Regions from separate parts of the Homo sapiens genome. Here regions 2, 3, 4, 5 and 6 are each linked to region 1. Evidence: promoter capture Hi-C in 16 types of primary human blood cells and fetal thymus (Javierre and others, 2016). All regions are on one chromosome and are shown on one strand. The core of a region is centred on a gene start or on the middle of the fragment in contact, and the rest is flanking DNA. Distances in the headings are between cores, read along the strand shown. Region 1 holds the start of MPZL1 (myelin protein zero like 1). Region 2 holds the start of POGK (pogo transposable element derived with KRAB domain). Region 3 overlaps TADA1 (transcriptional adaptor 1). Region 4 has its middle 9.7 kb from the start of TADA1. Region 5 overlaps GPA33 (glycoprotein A33). Region 6 holds the start of GPA33 (glycoprotein A33).

What was found. The method cuts DNA at HindIII sites, captures the fragments that hold promoters and counts their contacts. A CHiCAGO score of 5 or more calls a contact.
Region 2: the fragment with the promoter of POGK here is called in contact with the fragment with the promoter of MPZL1 in region 1 in 10 of 17 cell types (total CD4 T cells, non-activated CD4 T cells, fetal thymus and 7 more); the score reaches 17.5 in total CD4 T cells.
Region 3: a fragment that was not itself captured here is called in contact with the fragment with the promoter of MPZL1 in region 1 in 1 of 17 cell types (activated CD4 T cells); the score reaches 5.3 in activated CD4 T cells.
Region 4: a fragment that was not itself captured here is called in contact with the fragment with the promoter of MPZL1 in region 1 in 1 of 17 cell types (fetal thymus); the score reaches 6.1 in fetal thymus.
Region 5: a fragment that was not itself captured here is called in contact with the fragment with the promoter of MPZL1 in region 1 in 2 of 17 cell types (fetal thymus and neutrophils); the score reaches 5.9 in fetal thymus.
Region 6: the fragment with the promoter of GPA33 here is called in contact with the fragment with the promoter of MPZL1 in region 1 in 2 of 17 cell types (total CD8 T cells and naive CD4 T cells); the score reaches 5.2 in total CD8 T cells.

Annotation. Positions count from the first base shown.
Region 1 is chr1:167,720,627-167,723,452 of GRCh38, reverse strand. MPZL1 (myelin protein zero like 1) reads right to left here and starts at 1,471. Exons shown (of 6, transcript NM_003953.6): 1 at 1,211-1,471. The coding sequence starts at 1,301. RefSeq lists silencers at 832-971, 1,002-1,071, 1,462-1,831 and an enhancer at 643-1,143. The HindIII fragment of the contact is 2,037 bases long and covers 435-2,471 here.
Region 2 is chr1:166,838,032-166,840,857 of GRCh38, reverse strand. It overlaps POGK (pogo transposable element derived with KRAB domain), which reads right to left and starts at 1,383. Exons shown (of 6, transcript NM_017542.5): 1 at 1,254-1,383. RefSeq lists silencers at 858-1,097, 1,198-1,627. The HindIII fragment of the contact is 10,121 bases long and covers 1-2,826 here.
Region 3 is chr1:166,861,419-166,864,244 of GRCh38, reverse strand. TADA1 (transcriptional adaptor 1) reads left to right here. Exons shown (of 8, transcript NM_053053.4): 4 at 324-421; 5 at 1,833-2,042. Among named protein-coding and RNA genes, the nearest start is that of TADA1, 13 kb to the left of the region's middle. The HindIII fragment of the contact is 2,149 bases long and covers 397-2,545 here.
Region 4 is chr1:166,884,575-166,887,400 of GRCh38, reverse strand. No RefSeq gene overlaps it. Among named protein-coding and RNA genes, the nearest start is that of TADA1, 9.7 kb to the right of the region's middle. RefSeq lists an enhancer at 2,686-2,826. The HindIII fragment of the contact is 5,404 bases long and covers 1-2,826 here.
Region 5 is chr1:167,059,616-167,062,441 of GRCh38, reverse strand. The region is part of intron 4 of GPA33 (glycoprotein A33); the gene reads left to right. GPA33-AS1 (GPA33 antisense RNA 1) reads right to left here. Exons shown (of 6, transcript XR_922249.3): 3 at 1,696-1,814. Among named protein-coding and RNA genes, the nearest start is that of GPA33-AS1, 8.3 kb to the right of the region's middle. The HindIII fragment of the contact is 948 bases long and covers 921-1,868 here.
Region 6 is chr1:167,088,925-167,091,750 of GRCh38, reverse strand. GPA33 (glycoprotein A33) reads left to right here and starts at 1,374. Exons shown (of 7, transcript NM_005814.3): 1 at 1,374-1,506. The coding sequence starts at 1,464. LOC124904451 (a long non-coding RNA gene) reads right to left here. Exons shown (of 3, transcript XR_007066717.1): 2 at 2,340-2,428; 3 at 370-965. RefSeq lists an enhancer at 1,199-1,348. The HindIII fragment of the contact is 4,295 bases long and covers 605-2,826 here.

The DNA of each region.
Region 1 (2,826 bases), core at 222-2,721:
ACACAAAGTGTGTCATCATCTGTCAACCCCTGGAGGGTAGGGAGACTTTTACATTTATGCTTTACAGCCCCTGGAATCACTGTTTAAGTGGAACAGTTGGTGATCCAACAGAACTTCACCTAGTTTCCCTGATCCAAGGATTATATTAAGAACTTTTCCATGAAGAAAGAAATTACTGAGTAAACTCTGGTATTCAGATACTGTGATGCTAAATCATAACTGACATTTTGAAAACAAAGGGAATGAAAAAAATCTACGTGGTTTCTTAGCAGCTGGCCCTCTTTATAACTATTATTTAACTAAATTCGGAGACAGCAACAAGTACTTTGCTTTGAACAACAACACAGAAAAGTCCTGTGGCAGATACCACTTCAGATGTCCATAAAACAAGTCATCCAATTCCCATAAATTGAGCCCGAGGTTTACCTTAAGCTTGAGTCACAATATTTGGTAAGAAAAAGGAGCTTTTTTTTTCCTTTAGGAAAATTATGCTTTTTAATGCTCTATGTCTTGTCAAATTATGGTGGCTACGTCTGGAATTATGATGGATTTGACCAAATTCTTTTAAGCCAGGCCATCTCACTGGTATTCCAAGCTCTTTGCATTCTAACCTAGAAGTAACAATATTTTTTTATTGGCGTTTTGCAGACCACGGAAATGAGACTCTTTTATTACGGAGACTTAAAACTGAATGAGAGCATGGGAAAGGGAACTTACAACAAAACCCTGGCTTAACAGGAAACAAATCAACAAAGGCCCTACAAATGAAAAACCTGCAACTTTCCGCCACCTCCCAAAGGTGAAGAACGCCAGAACCCTAGTTCCTGAGTCAGAATCCGGGAGGGCCTAGACGATCCAGAGTCACCACGAGGAGAGGGCAGGGTGCGCCGCGAGGGCTCACCGCAGCCGCCCGCCGGGTCCGCTCCCCTGGACCGCCCCCCGGGAAGGAGCAAGGTAAAGCACTCTCCCCTCCTCCTCCGCACTCCAGGATCCAGGAAAGAGAAGAAAGAGGCTCTGCGCCTTCCCGGCCAGTCGCGGAGGCCCGCGTTCCCCATGGGCTGGGTCCCCTCGGCCCCAGAGAGCGCAGGCCGCGCCCCCTCCCCACCTCGGCTCTCAGTGCGCGCGCCTGGCCTGCGACCGCCGCGATGGGCGTGTGTCGGGCCCGGGGGCCCCACTCCCCGGCCCCAGCCCTGGTCCTGGCATCACTTACAGAGCCCAAGCGCCGCCGCCAGCACCGACCACAGCCAGCGCCGGCTGTCTGGGGCTGCAATCACCGCCCCGGCTCCGGCGGACGCTGCCATCGTCCAGCCACTGCAGTCGCCGCCGCCGCCGCCGCGTCCCTGAGCCCGGGTCCCCGCTGAGGTTGGCTCGGCTTGGGGAAGAGGCTTCTGATCTCTCCGCCACCCGCGCCGGGTGGCACCTCCACGCCGCGCTCCCCACTCCGGTCCCAGCCGCGGCTCTCCAGCTCTGCACCGAAGCCTCAGCCCCACTCCGGCCCTCGCTGTCCGCTCATTGGCCTGCCCGCACCCTTTTAAGGACGCGATTGGAGAGTCAGGCTGTCCATCATCCGTCCGCCGGGAAGGCCCCGCCTCCTCGGTCCCACCCAGGCGCCTCGGCCCCGCGCGGAGGCCGGGTCTGCAGCGGTCCCAGGCCGAGCCGAGCCTTCCGCCTGCCTGCGTGGCTGTCCGCCTGCGGGCCCCACCAGCCAGCGTCTCCTCTGCCTTTCTCAGGGTCCAGTCCCGTGGTCCTCTTCATTGTCTCTCCTCGCCACAGGTCTTTGCTGGGTACTAACCTCGCCTCCGTTTCAGCTCTTCTTGTTCTCTGCCGGCCTCACCTAACGAAAAAGAAGCAATTCATTTACCTTAAAAAGAAAGAAAAGACAGAAAGAAAAATAATGAGGCGTTCAATTGATGGGGGAGAGACTTCTGATTCAGTCGTCCAGGTGGAACACGTTCCCCGTGCCGTGTCCCCAAGGCCTGTCCTTTGCGTGGACTAGATAATGTATGTGTTGCAATTTGCGAAATCTACTAGTTTAAAAAGAAGTCTCCATCTTGCCCTAACCTCCTCTTAGGAACCTCCCTCCTGGCTTCAGAAGGATGGGAATCTGGAACTCTTTCCTACTACCTGAAAAACAAATGAAAATGCTTTTTGATTGTTTTGCTTTCGCATATCTGTGTTCCTGTCTGTGTCCGTGAAAAATAGAAAGCAGAAGTTCCCAACACTGATTCTGAAGTGCCCTGCAGAAGTTCCCGACACTGATTGCTGGCCCTGCTCAACTTGGTTGCCTTGGCCCAGAACAGTCTGCCACCTACGGGTTGTCCAATCAATAGGGGAAATATTTGGAAGGATCCTTATGAAAATGGCTTACAAAAGGGAAAAATGGGGGACAGGGGCACAAGAAAGATGAGTGTGAAGGAGGAAAAGGGAAGATTCAGGTGGGAGGCTGATACGATGAGGAAGGGAAGCAAGCTTTAGACAATTAGGACAAGAGCGGGGGAAGAGTATGGTGAGAACCCAAAATGTAACCTCTCACTTCAGGGTTTTTGTCTAAGGTCAGTCTTAACAATGCCATTCCTGATATCTGTGCTGTTTCAGCTAACATTGCAGTACAGCGAAATCATAAGAACATTAGTGAGAAAAAAACTTAAAAAAAAAAAATACCAGAACCACTTTGCCCTATTTCTGTCAGCAGATCCTTTTGAAGTTGTATCTCAAATGCCATAGGTTGGAAAAGATACCAATGCATTAATTGAACCATGGATGTAGAACACCTGGGCTTTACTCTCAAGAAGCACATCGTCTACTAGTGTACACAAACAAGTACTC
Region 2 (2,826 bases), core at 134-2,633, 880 kb after region 1:
CCCAAGCACTGTTCCCGCTGGAGGGAAGTAAGGAAACAAGAGTCGGCCAGGAAGCTACAGGGTGACATGTTTAATTATGATAAGAGAGGCTGTGGGTAGATAACGTATCTGGCTGCCTTCAAATATTTAAAAAGCTATCTGGGGAAGAGAACCCAGACTGGTTTGTAGAGACTGGACGGCAGAACAGAGGCCGGCCAGTGGATAAATACTCCTGGAAAAGGTTTTAAGCAGTGAGAAAGGCAGTACTTTCTCACAGCCAGTGCCACCCAAACAGGAATCAGAGGCAGGGGAAAGGTGCTGATTTCCTATCAGTGAAGGTGTCTGAACACAGATTGGACACTTACTCAACTGGAATGGGTGCTAGAAGCCAGTTAAGCATGGGCGGAGCGGTTGGCTCAGTAGGCCCATTGCCTGGATTTTCCAAATTCAAAGGTTCTGTCCACGAGCTGGTTCAGAAAATAGGGTCATTCTACCTTAAGGGACTTTGCAAACGCAGGAGTCAGTGAAACATAGTGAGGGTTATGCCTGGATACCCAAAAAGGTGCAGAAATCGGCTGGGGCCCACCCCGACAGGGAAATAACCCATTGCCTCTGGGCTGCAAATTCTCTATTCGCTGACTCTTGGCCAGTACAAAGGGCCGCACTCCTGCCCTCTATGGGCGCGGGCAATTCCTAGGTGTGGAGTGCGGATGCATCTTGAGGGCTGCATCGGGGAACCTCCAAAGAAAAGATCCCTCTGGAGTTCAAAGTCGGTTCCTTCGATATTTCCAAAAAAGATAGGCGAACGCGGCATGGATGGGTCTAGGCTTCAGATGCCTGCAGCTGGGGCCCGAACTTGGCGGCGGTCTCCCTGCCGGCTCCGGGGCAGAGGTGGGAGGGGCCGCCTCCCCGCGCTAAGGTGCCGCAACCAGGGCCGCCGCCCGCCCTGCCCCGCCTGCGCCACCGCCGCCGCGCCCCCGGGCGCGTTCGGATTTCTCCAGCCATCTTGCCCCATTTCCCTTTCTCCGCGGAACCGCGCCGGGAGCGCTTCCGCTGCCCCCTCCGCCCGGCCCGCCTCCCCACCTGGCCCCCTCCCGGCCCCAGCGCACCTGCCGGGCGGCGAGAGCCGGCGCCGCCCGCCTCCCCGGCGGGCCCGCAACAAAGGCGGCGGCGGCGGCGGCGCAGCCTCGGCGCCCCCGCCTCTGCCGCGGCCCAGCCGCCCGGGACCCGGGGGAGGGGCCGCGCCGCCGCCGCCCCCGCCCGCGCGCACTCACCGCCGGGCCCAGCGGCCAGGGCGCGGGGTGGGGACGCGAGGGCTCCGGCCCGGCTGTCACAGCGCCATCCTTTCCGCCTCTCCGTCCTCCCGTGCGCGCGGCCCCTCGGGAGGGAGCGGGGAGGACACGTGGTGGGAGGAGGGAGGGTCCGGCCCGGAGCTGAGGGTGTTGGGAGGCGAGGGGAGGAGCGCGGCTGATGTCAGCAGGCCTCGGCGGCGCCGGGGGACGGCGCCCGCGCGAGCTCCGGGGCCCTCCTCTAGGCGCGGCTTCCGGCCGGTCCGGGCAGTCCCTGGCGGGCCTGGGTAGCCGTGCCCTCGGCCTTCCCCGCCCCGCCCGATGCAGGCCGCTTCCAGTGCTGCGTGTGACCTCGGCGTGGACGAGGCAGGAAGAGCCCAGATTGATTTTAACCGAGCGTAGCGTGGGCGCACAGTTCCATGTGCTCATTTGCAGTCACCAGCGGGTTGCACTTGCTTGGACGAGCTCTCCAGGCGTTCTCGCCGTGCTTCAGGCAATGAAAGGCTAGACCGGCAAGAGCGTGTAGGGGCATGAGGAGGGGTCTTTGGGGAAGAGTATTCGTATTCTGGCAGCGGGCTCCTGTCCAGAACTTCGTCATATACATGGAGAAGGAACTTCCTGATTTTTGTAGCTGTTGCTTAATATCCCAAGCATGTAATTCCTTGGATGAAGTGGGTGTATAGAAGGACCTTTCTTCTCCAAAACGTCCAAAGGAGTTGTTTACTCTCAGCTCTGTGGGCAATACAACAAAAGTGACCTGAGAAGCCCTGAAGCCCTTTTCATTCCAGAAAAAGATTCTGGGTATGGGTTTTTGTTGAGAACTTGTTGAAGAAAAAATTATTCTGACACTTGTTAAAACAGTAAGGAAGACTTTATACAGGGTTATTGCTATAGGTGTAAAGATGATCACACTGGGGGGAGAGATGAGGTCTAACACGGAATACAGTAAGGACAGCTGGGGATGTATAGCCAAGGAGCAGAACGAAGGGGTCAGTAGATGGAAAGTTACTGATACGAGACATCAAGCACCTAGAGGGATTCTTGCTGAACCCACTTAACAGGATTCTTGCTGAAGGCAGGCTAGGGCGATCAGATATCAAGGGTGGGGGAATGAGAAATTTGATCAGATATCCAGGGTGATCAGATATCAAGGGTGGTGATTTCTCTCTAACCTAACTTAGCAGGGTTCTTGCTAAAATAGAGCTGGGCAGGCCAAAGGTTCGGGGTGAGTGGTCAGGGGACCAGGGTGGAGGCCTGCTGAAGAAGAGGACTTAAGCCTGATTAAACTTTGGTCAAGGAAAGAGTCCGTCAAACTCTTCAGATTGTCTCTGAGACCTGAATATCTGTTGGAAAAGACCTGTCTTTCCAAGTTTTTGTGGCCACTACTACTTACATGTGAATTTTACTTCTCTCAGTCATGGGAGAGGTCACTGTGCACTGTGCTCTTAACACGTAAAATGTAGCATGACATAACGTACACATCTTGGAAGTGCAATCACGGTGACAACCCAAGACCGTAGAAGATCTAATCTGTGGGTGGAAAAGATCGTTCAAATAT
Region 3 (2,826 bases), core at 222-2,721, 860 kb after region 1:
GTTCATCATCTTAGACCAGCAAATTCTGTCCTACATCTATAATAATACTACTGCTAATAAACAAAACACCCAATAAACATTAATTGAAAATATAAAAAAATTTGTCTTCCTAAAAAAATTTTAGTTGCAGCTAGGAAAAAAATGTGATTTGAGAGGATCGATAATTTTATTTAGAGAAGTAGAAAGAGAAGGTTTTGATTTAAGCATTCATTAGTTATTTGCATTTCATGAGCATTCCATGCTTTTTACCCCAAATGAAAACAAACTTAGCAGTTATCAGTTGTCATTATTTTTACTTATGGTTATATATTTCTGTCTCCTAGATGGTGCTGGATCTTTGCCTTGGCCAGGGGGTTCCGCAGCAAAACCTGGAAAACCCAAGGGAAAGAAAAAGCTTTCTTCTGTTCGTCAGAAATTTGATGTAGGTTGTTCTTTAATAGGTCTTGATAATGACTGATTGAAGTAGTGGCATGTTGGGACTAGCTTTAGTTTTTAAATGAATATTAAAATACTGGTAGTAGAGTTGAAAAAAAGGAGTATGATTTGGGAAGAAAAGCGTTTCAAGGATTGTGAGTTCTAGGTGTCTGAATTTTTATAGTTCTTGTTTGTTACTGCTTAAATAGTAATGTTATCATTAGTACCTAATGATTTTTCAGTTATTCAAAACAATGCTTTTGTCTCTCCTGTTAAGTATTTTTCTTGAATGAATAATGTTTCTTGGATGAAGACATCTGTCTCAAGGGCTCAGGCAGCCTGGAGGCCTTTAATGGGGTCCTGGTGATGTCCAGCTGGGCCCTGAGCCTTTTGAGGACTAGTAGAGATGTCATGAAGGCATTTGGCTATAAAATTTGTAAGCATTTTAAAACAAATTGCTTTTTTCAGTGTATATTTAGGGAAAAAAACTTCCCCGAAGTAACCCTTTTATAGGTTTATGGGGTATTGATAGCTTTATTGATTAACATCAATAAACAATTATTTATTTTCACCTTGACTATATGCTTTATATCAGTAAGAATGTAGAGGCCATTGGGATCTCTAGAGAGACATGTCTGATTTAAAAAGAGATGTTCAATATAAAGTAGTTTTATACTTGGAAAATGGAAAAATAACCATGTTGTTTTCATAATATCAATTTCAAACAGGGACAAACCATCTTCACTACAAAATCTTTTATATTAGCCTTAAGCAAAAGGTACTGGGGCATAACTCCAGGTGGTGATGGAGAACATGAATGGGCTATCAGAATCTCCCTGAGGAAGGCTGAGATTTTATGAATGAAAAAGACTGAGAAAAATAGTCATGACTGTATCTTAGGTTCTGTGTTGAGAATTCTAAGTAGAAAATAACAGCAATTAAGTAGTTACTCTACATAGCATTATCTTGGAATATTTGTTACTAGATCTGCCATATTGGTTAGCTAGGCTTTTTAAGATTTAATTGAATCATTCATTATATGTTTATACTTTTAGAACCTACTTACGGTTAGATTTAAAATGCTCTGATTTGTTTGAATATAGTTCAATACTTCTCCTTCTCTTTCAGTTATTTTTAACACAGTGCCATACATTCTGTGATCACCAAGGTATTAATTGAATAGAATAAACTACTACGCAAACTACCATTATTCCCCTTAATCCATGTCTTCATTATTACCTTGTATTGGATGTGAATCTGTGATTATTTGTGCATGAATTAACTCTTTTTTCCCTTAACCCCTGTGGTATAGTTTTGGTGGCATTAATTTGGAGGATCTCAACTTCAGTACAGGAGTTTACTTTGTGTCTTGTTTGCTACTGTAATGAGTAATTTTAAAAAGTTTTTCTTACTCATAGCATAGATTCCAGCCTCAAAATCCTCTCTCAGGAGCCCAGCAATTTGTGGCAAAGGATCCCCAAGATGATGACGACTTGAAACTTTGTTCCCACACAATGATGCTTCCCACTCGAGGCCAGCTTGAAGGGAGAATGATAGTGACTGCTTATGAGCATGGGCTGGACAATGTCACCGAGGAGGCTGTTTCAGCTGTTGTCTATGCTGTGGAGGTTGGTTTGCTGTTGGCAGAAATAATCTTACAGGTTGAATGTGATAGGCTTGTGTGTTGTTTAAAGTCGGTATTGCAAGAAAAGAATCCAAATGTCACTCTGATTTCACAGAATTGTCATTGTTGAAGTTGTTTTCTGTTTTTTTTGAGACAGCATCACTTTGTCTCCCAGGCTGGAGTGCAGTGGCACGATCATGGCTCACTGCAACCTGGAAATCCTGGGCTCAAGCGATCCTCCTGCCTCAGCCTCTCAAGAGCTGGGAGTATAGACGTGCGCCACCATACTCAGCTAATTTAAAAAAAAAAAATTTTTTAGGGATGGGGGTCTCTCTCTCTTGCCTAACTGGTCTCGAATTCATGGGCTCAAGTGATCTTCCCGCCTTGGCCTCCCAAGGTGCTGGGATTTACATGTGTGAGCCATAGCACCTGGCTAAAAGTTGTTTTCTTTTAAGAGGAGAAACTCATTATAATCCAAATAGTTGTCTTCAGTTAATAGACTAAGCTTTTCAGAAAGGTTATTTATGGCATAACTCTTCTGGTTGATCTGATGTTTTGTCAACAGGGGAATGGTTTTTAAGGAAAGAAATGAAATTGAGAATCCTATAGATTAAAGTCACTTGTTTTTGCTGTGATACAGCACTGAAGAGTATTAGTCTTGGCATCTGAACAGCAGAATTCTTGTCTCTGCTCATGATTTCATTTGTCCATTCATTTTATTCATTTAGTTACTTGACAAAACTAATTTGATGGGGTCTATAATGCACGAGTATGGTCAGGTGACATTG
Region 4 (2,826 bases), core at 195-2,694, 840 kb after region 1:
CCAGGAATGTTTGGGGTTCCCAGCCCACAGGGGTCCTCTGCCCTGGCTGATGTGGTAGGTGTCCTGCATCTATCAGCCTGTCACATAGGTGCCCTATTGCTTATTAAATAAGGTTTAGGGGGAAAACTATGAGGAATGGTTGCGCATTAGAATCTCTGGAGGGCTTTGAAAAATAGTGATACCTGGATTCCATTCCCCAGACATTCTAGTTTAATCGTTCTGGGGAACGGCCAGAGCATGGAATTTCTAAAAATTCTCCCAAGTGATTCTAACACCGAAGTTGAGAACCATTGCTCTTATGAAAGCTATTGTAGGGTGAATTAAGTAGAAATAATCTGTTCAAGCAAGCAAATTCCAGTAATCTCCTTTGGTTATATCTGGCTCCAGAAATGATGGGCAGACACTGCATGTTTTCTGTAGTCCCCCTTGGGCTCTCCATAGCAACCAGATGGAATGGATTCCATTGCCCTGGCCTGGTTGGTTCCACAGTATCCCCTACCTAACATGGAAATTGTTGGAATAGACTAGACATTAATTTGTGTGGACATGTTAAGTGTTTCATAAATGTCTCCTAACATCATTATTATCTGTTGAGAAGCTGGCTCTGCTTGGCATTAGAACATACACAGACAGTTCCTTCTTTCCATTGTCCTCTTTTCTGCATATAGTGGAAAAGGTTGAGGCTCCTATTATTGGCATTCTGCAAAAACCTGCCATGCAGGCCTAAAGCAATACAAGTACTTTGAGGTTTGAGGCTACCCAGGAGTCCGTTATATCTAGCAGTGACCGCCATTACTATTTTGTATTGGGTAGTCATCCCTCAGGTTGAAATCACTGCCATGGAAGCAGCCAAATTTCATGACCCTGGTTTACACCAGCTGTCACCCTCTTCACAGGCAAATGGAACATCACAGGCTTCCAACAGATTCTAATAATGCAGAAGTAGCAAAGGGCACACTTCTGGAATTTTTTGTTTGAAGTTGCAAGCCCCGCAAATCCTACTAGGAAACAGAGCAAAGCCAGCTGGGTTAGGATCTACCATAAAGGTACAGTTCCACAAAGTCCATTTTAAATAACATATGGAAATTGCAGTAGTCCTAGTTTCATGTGGGTGAGACCTGCCTCATCTTCTTGAACTGGGGTCAACCATTCAGATACTATTTTCTAGGTTTGTACTCTACAAAACAATTGGTAACTTGGGGAAAGCAATAAACTCAGGTGTCATATATTTGTAATTAAAAAAGACAGGACTGGGTACAGTGGCTTACACCTGTAATCCCAGCGCTTTAGGAGGCTGAGATTGGCCAACTGCTTGAGCCTAGCAGTTCAAGACTACCCTGGGCAACACAGAAAGTCCCCTCATCTCTACAAAAGAAAAAAAAAGAACTGGGCATGGTGGTACACACCTGTAGTCCCAGCGGCTTGGGAGGCTGAGGTGAGAGGATCACTTGAGCCCAGGAGATCGAGGGCTGCAGTGAGCCATGATTGTGCCATTGTACTCCAGGCTGGGCAACAGAGCAAGATCCTGTCTCCAAAAAAAAAATCCATCTCTATAAAAAATAAAATTAACCAGGTGACAGATCAAGAGGAGAAGGAGGAGGAGGGGAAGGAGGGAGAGGAAGAAAAAGAAAACAAAAAAGATTATTCTGCCTAAATCTCTTACCTATCTGATGTGCATCTAGTGAGGACAGTGCAGCCTGTAGAGGGGGAGTCTCTCAAAATGTGGGTGCAGGGCATGCGTGAGCTCCATCCCCACAGTGTGCAGAAATCATGGAGCTGCAGGGAGGTGTAGTAGAATGTGGATGGTTGAAAGGATGGCATCAGCTACATTGGTTGGAGGGCATCAGGGAGTTTTCAGACCATTCCAGCTTGTCTCAGATGAAATCTTTAGGAAGAAATGGACAGGGGCACTCACACTAGAGTAAGCAGTAGAACATGGTAGCTAGAGTATGAGTTCTGGAATGGGGCTTACTGGGCTTATGTCCAGTTCTACTAGATGTGTAACTGTGGGCAATTTTCTTAACTCTCTATGATTTAGTTTATCTCCCTGTAAAATGGGAGTAACAATAGTAGTACCTACCTTGTGGGGGGTTGTGGCAAGGATTTTAAATCATCGCCAAAAAACATATTCAGTACAATGCTTGGCAGATATTAAGTGCTCACTGGAGTTAACATATTTTTGTGGTTATTGTGGCAAAATGGACTCTGGTGTCAGTGAGATCTAGGTTCCAGTCTTAACTCTGCCACTTCCTGTGTAACCTAGAGCAACTGAACTTTCCTGAGTCTCAGTTCCCTCACTTATGGCCTGGGGATAGCAGCAATTCAAACCTCACTGGATTATGGTTTGGGCTAAAGGAGGTAATGTAGTAGACCCACTTCGTAGCAGGGAGTTCGTACATATCAGCTGTTGTTATTTCCTAGAGCCTGATGAGAAAGAGCTCACAATGGGTTGCACTCTACTCTCTTCCTCACTCAGGACCCAAGGTGGGTGGTAGGGTGGGGGAGAGGGTAAACTCTACAGGTGGCCTCTGTATGCCCTGCCTTTACACTCAACTGCTGTCAGGCCCCTTTGGTCCGCAGCTCCCAGGTTGTCCCCAAATGTGACAATTCGTCAATTTCTTCCTGTAGGTAACAACCCTGCCTGTAATATGTCAATGATTTTGAGTCTATCCCTGCCGTTATTGGAGGGTCTGAAAGTGGCACCTTTGGACAACCAAGATATTTTATGAGTCCAAGGGGTAGGACTTCCCAGGGTCCGCAGAAGAAATGCTCAAGCGTCAGGTGGCCACCAGAGACCTGCTGCCGGTGGCCAAGGGTATCATCCCG
Region 5 (2,826 bases), core at 145-2,644, 660 kb after region 1:
CAAGACCAGTCTGGGCAACATTGTGAGACCCCTGTCTCCAAACAAAATTTTTAAAAAATTAGCTGGGCATGGCAGGACTCACCCTTTAGTCCCAGCTACTCAGAAGGCTGAGGTGGGAGGATTGCTTAAGCTCTGGAGGTCGAGGCTGCAGTGAGCCATGATCACACCACTGCACTCCAGCCTTGGTGACAGAGCGAGACCCTGCCTCAAATAAAATAAAATAAAATAAAGTAAAATAAAATAAAATAAAGTAAAATAAAATAAAATAAATAAAATATTTTTTAAAAAGAAAGACAAGGCCTGAAAGGTGTCCATCCGATTTAGCTTCTGGGAGGTCTTTCAGTTCAGTGTAGGTGGAAAAGGAGGCCAGAGGTGGAAAGCAAAGCCAGCAGGGCACACAGCTCTTCTGAGAAGATGAGGTGCCCCGGGGGTGGGGATGAGGACCCGGGGGAAGAATATCTGGTGTCCTGGATAAGCCCAGCCGGACGGATGCACACATTGGGGGTGCACTCAATCCAGGAAGAGCTTTATCACTCGTTTGGGGGCAAATCGACTTCTTAAAAAAGTTAGTAGACACTTTGGGAGGCTGAGGCAGGCGGATCACGAGGTCAGGAGATCGAGACCATCCTGGCTAACACGGTGAAACCCCGTCTCTACTAAAAATACAAAAAATTAGCCGGACGTGGTGGCGGACGCCTGTAGTCCCAGCTACTCCGGAGGCTGAGGTAGGAGAATGGCGTGAACCTGGGAGGCGGAGCTTGCAGTGAGCCGAGATCGCGCCACCGCACTCCAGCCTGCAGCCTGGGCAACAGAGCGAGACTCCGTCTCAAAAAAAAAAAAAAAAAAAAAAAAAAACAGTTAGTAGAATCCACTCGACCTAACTTAAAATAGGTCAATGTAATGTAGGTTTTCAACAAGCTTCCAGTTGTGTTTACGTATTTCTGGTTGGCAACTTTTTATCGAGTGTGTCTGGAATTTTTGTTGAAACCACCTGGCAGCTCCCCGGGGGCTCTGTGGCCTCCTCTCTCTGGCCTATGAATAGTCTAGTGACTCCAGCCATGGTCATGGTAGGTGTGCTGTGGACACTGGTAGTGTCTGATCTTCTTTCCTGCAAAGTGTGTATATGGAGACCCAAAGCTGAAGGTTACAGGTGGCAGATGCTATAATAGCTTTATACCCAGTGGTGATGTAACACAGAAGATGCATAAGAAGATCAAAGAAGGTTTCTCCAAGGAGTGGGTATTGGAGTCGACAGTGGTTAAGAGCATGCCATGGGCTTGACTCCTGGCTCGGACACTTGTTAGCTGTATGACCTTGGCAAGTGACTCAGCTTCTTTGTGCCTTAGGTTCTATGTCTATGAAATGGGTACAATGCTAGTGTTTACTTCATAGGGTTGTGAAGATTAAATAAAAGTAGATGTGAAGCATTGAGACTAGTGCCTGGTAGGCAGTAAGCACTCATTTAATGCTAAGTGTTATTAGCTGTTATTTGAGTTGGGTCCTCAAGGATGAGGAGGCTTGGCATGGAGAACAGGAAGGAATCATGACTGTCTGGTGTGGCTAAGGGGTAGGGTGCGTGTGTAGGTGTAGGAATGGTGGGAGATACTCTTGTTAAGAAACACAGTGATGAGAAATCATGAAGAGCCTGTGCGTTACGCTAGGGAGGTTCGTCTTTGCCCTGTAAGCCACGGGTACCTTCTGAGGAGCCTCACAAAGGGGCAGCCCAGCTGCAGTTCTCTCCTGCCTCCACAGGGAGACTCTTCTGGTTGTTAGAAGCCAAAACTTAGTTCTTTCATTATCCAAAAGGGAGAATCCTGAGGACAGGAAAGGAGGTGAAAAGAGAATTGCTTCTTTAATTTGTGAAAGCTTTAATTTGTGAAAGCTTTATCCTGTCTCTAGTTAAGATTTGCTGAGTCAGAATGGGGACCTGCAGGTGACAGAAAAGAATATGGTTAATGTCCATAACAACATGCCCTGGCATCTGGAGACATTGCGGGGTGAGGGCAGAGTTCTCAAAGCCTTCGTTTCCACTCTGCTTTGCAGAGCCTTGGAGAATCTGCCAATTCTGGCCAGGTGCAGTGTGGCTCATGCCTGTAATCCCAGCACTTTGAGAAGCTGAGGCGGGTGGATCGCTTGAGTACAGGAGTTCGAGACCCACCTGGGCAACATGGTGAAACCCTGTCTCTACCAAAAATACAAAAATTAGCCTGGCATGGTGGTGTGTGCCTGTAGTCCCAGCTACTTGGGAGGCTGAGGTGGGAAGATCCTTGGGCCTGGAAGGCAGAGGTTGCAGTGAGCCAAGATGGTGCCACTGCAGCCTGGGCACTAGAGCCAGATCTTATCTTAAAAACACAAAACAAACAAACAAAAAATAAATAGAGAGAATCTGCTAATTCTTCTTCCTCTGTGGGTCAGCCCAAATTATTTCTGGCTTTTAAAACATTTCAGTCCACCATGGACGATTTGGAGAGGAGGGTACCTCTGCTCTCCTACATCTGAAGACAATTTCCAACATTAGAGATTCATTCCTTTGACTAAACCCTCAGTGGAAACAAGCTAGCAGTGAAAAGAACAGGGAATCCAGAATCAGGAAACAAGAAGTCCTGACTTCTCCACTTTGGAGCTGTGAGTCACTCACAGCCTCTCGGACCCTTAGTACTGCCCTTTGAAAAAAACTGGGATTCCCCAAAAGCTGTGAAGAGGATGAGAGGAGATCCCATGTGTAATAGCTCTGAACAGACTTTGTAAGCTGTGTCCCAGGAAGCTGAGTTTCATGCACTGAAGAAACAGGAATTTGGATATCAAGGAAGTGGGGGAGGGGGTAGT
Region 6 (2,826 bases), core at 125-2,624, 630 kb after region 1:
TGTTTTGTATTTTTAGTAGAGGCGGGGTTTCACCGTGTTAGCCAGGATGGCCTCGATCTCTTGACCTCGTGATCAGCCCACCTTGGCCTCTCAAAGTGCTGTGATTACAGGCGTGAGCCACCGCGCCTGGCCAAATTTCACTAATAATTTTAAAAAGTAAATTATATATACATGGGATATCATGTTCACTTAGATTGGCGATGAGCAGAAAGTTTGATAACTGTGTCATAAACACTTGGTAACTGTGTTAGTGAGTGTGTGGGGAGATAGGTATCCTTATATGCTGCTAATAGGAGTGTAGGCTGTAAAATTCTCATGGTAGCTAGTTTAGCAATATCTATAAAAATTACAAATATGCATAACTTTCAGTGAGTCAGAAATTTTACTTTTAAGAATTTATCTTACATGTATAATCACAACACGTGTGAAATATCGTACACATAATAGATATTGGTTGCAATCTTTTCATAGTTGTGAAAGATGAGGAAAAACAATCTTAAAAGTAGTTTGGTTAAATAAATCATGTCACTCATATACAGTGAAATATCATCCCCATTTTAAAAAGATGATGGTGGTGGTGCTATACATACCGATACAGAAAGCTTTCTAAAACCTTTCATTAAATGAAAAATGAATAAATCATTGCAGAACAGTGTATATATATCTAAAATATCTATGGAAGAAACCAGCAACAGCCACTGCTCCTGGAGAATTATGGTCCCACACCACTGATCATTCTTTCAGTAGGGTGACCATCATCCAAATTTGCTTGGGACTGAGGGGGTTCCTTTTGGTTTGAAAACCAGGACAGTCCTAGGAAAAGTGAGACAAGTTGGTCACATGTCCCCAAGATGATCTTCTTTCACTTATGAACTTGCTACTTTCCCAGTCAGAATATAAACTCTGAAGGGGGAGACTTCCTGTTTTCTTCATGACTATATCTCTTGCGCACTGTGGGGTGGAGGCTGTAGAAGAGGAGAGAAGTAGAGAAACAGATCACATTGTGTCTTGAAGTGTTTCAGCAAATATGGGCAACACCCTTCTTTTACTAGCTTGGAACCCTACCTCTGAGTGCATTTCCCTTTTTATTATTTATTTCCTGTCAGTTATAAGAGAGGCCTACCCCTTTGTGAGCAGTCTAGGACTTTGTACACTTGTTAAGTAGGGAGAAGGCAGGGGAGGTGGCTGGTTTAAGGGGAACTTGAGGGAAGTAGGGAAGACTCCTCTTGGGACCTTTGGAGTAGGTGACACATGAGCCCAGCCCCAGCTCACCTGCCAATCCAGCTGAGGAGCTCACCTGCCAATCCAGCTGAGGCTGGGCAGAGGTGGGTGAGAAGAGGGAAAATTGCAGGGACCTCCAGTTGGGCCAGGCCAGAAGCTGCTGTAGCTTTAACCAGACAGCTCAGACCTGTCTGGAGGCTGCCAGTGACAGGTTAGGTTTAGGGCAGAGAAGAAGCAAGACCATGGTGGGGAAGATGTGGCCTGTGTTGTGGACACTCTGTGCAGGTGAGTAGGCCCCTTTTCTCTCCAGTGCCCAGGGGTGGGTGAGACATGGGGACCTAGGGCTGAAGGAGAGGCTCTGTCAGAGCCTTCCCAGGAAGGGCCTCCAGCAACACAGCTGCGTTCCTGCTGGGCCAGAATTACACATTCCGGACCAGTGCCCAGAATCAGAATGGTTTTTATTTACATATTAGTAAATAACATTCTAGCCCACTGCTGAAATGAAGAATTCAAAGTACTCTCAAGACCATATTTTCTTATCCCAAATTAGATTATAGGATCAGACACAGGATTTGACAATGTGGACAAAGTATTTGAAATCGGAGTTGTCCTAGAAAATCCAGGATGTGTGGATCTAGATATGTTCATTATCTAGTATATTAACGTTTGTGTTAAAACCAGAGAAAGAGACAGGAAACTGAGGCAGAAGAGACAATGCAACTTATCCCGTATCATTCACAGAGCAAGAGAAGATTCAAACCCTAAAAACAAACAACAAACTAGATGGGTCTTTTCCAAAGGCCAAAGCTCCTTGCCACTTCTGGGACCCTGGTCATTGAAAATTCTGGGACTCTGAGCATTTCCCTCTGGGAGGGAAACCTCCCAGAACAAAATCAGACATTCATGAGTATATGGTTGAATCCACATCAAGTGCTTAATAGCACAGTGTTCTGTGGGGACCTATGGAGTGTCTAAGGGTTAGAATGAAAGTCTTGGCATTAAGGTACCAACCATTTTGCTGGGCATTGGAAGGAAATAGAATGGAGAGAAGGAAGTTGAGAGACGCAGGGTTTGGCAAAGTTTAGGAATATCTTTGGTTTAGTGTATTTGGCCATCACCTTGCAATTCAGACACTGTTGAGGGCTTCCAGGATCCAGCTGCAACGGGGAGGAGAAGAGCTATACCAGGAAACTCAGGAGCACCAAGCCTGGGGAAGTGGAAACCAGGAGACTGGTTTAGAGCTCACTTTTTAGCATACACAGGAAAGCCCCGGGCCACGGGGCCTACAGCTCATTCTGGTTCTCCCAGGCCCTAGACATGCTTTTCTCTCAACACCTGGCCTTGGGGCTCTCGAGGGAAGGGCAGCCTGCTGCTGGGGAAGGGCTGGATCACACGGTTTGGAGGAAGATCTGGGTAAGATCATTCTCTCAGGCTGGCTCAAGTTCATCTGACTGAAGGCAGAAAGCCCCTCATCATCCACCAAGATGGACTGGTTGGCTCATTCCTTTATCCAAACAACTCTTTACTGAGCACATAGTTTGTGCAGGTGCCATAGAAGTGAGGAGTCTGGAATGATTAGTCATAAGTGGGCCTATCTCAGCCATC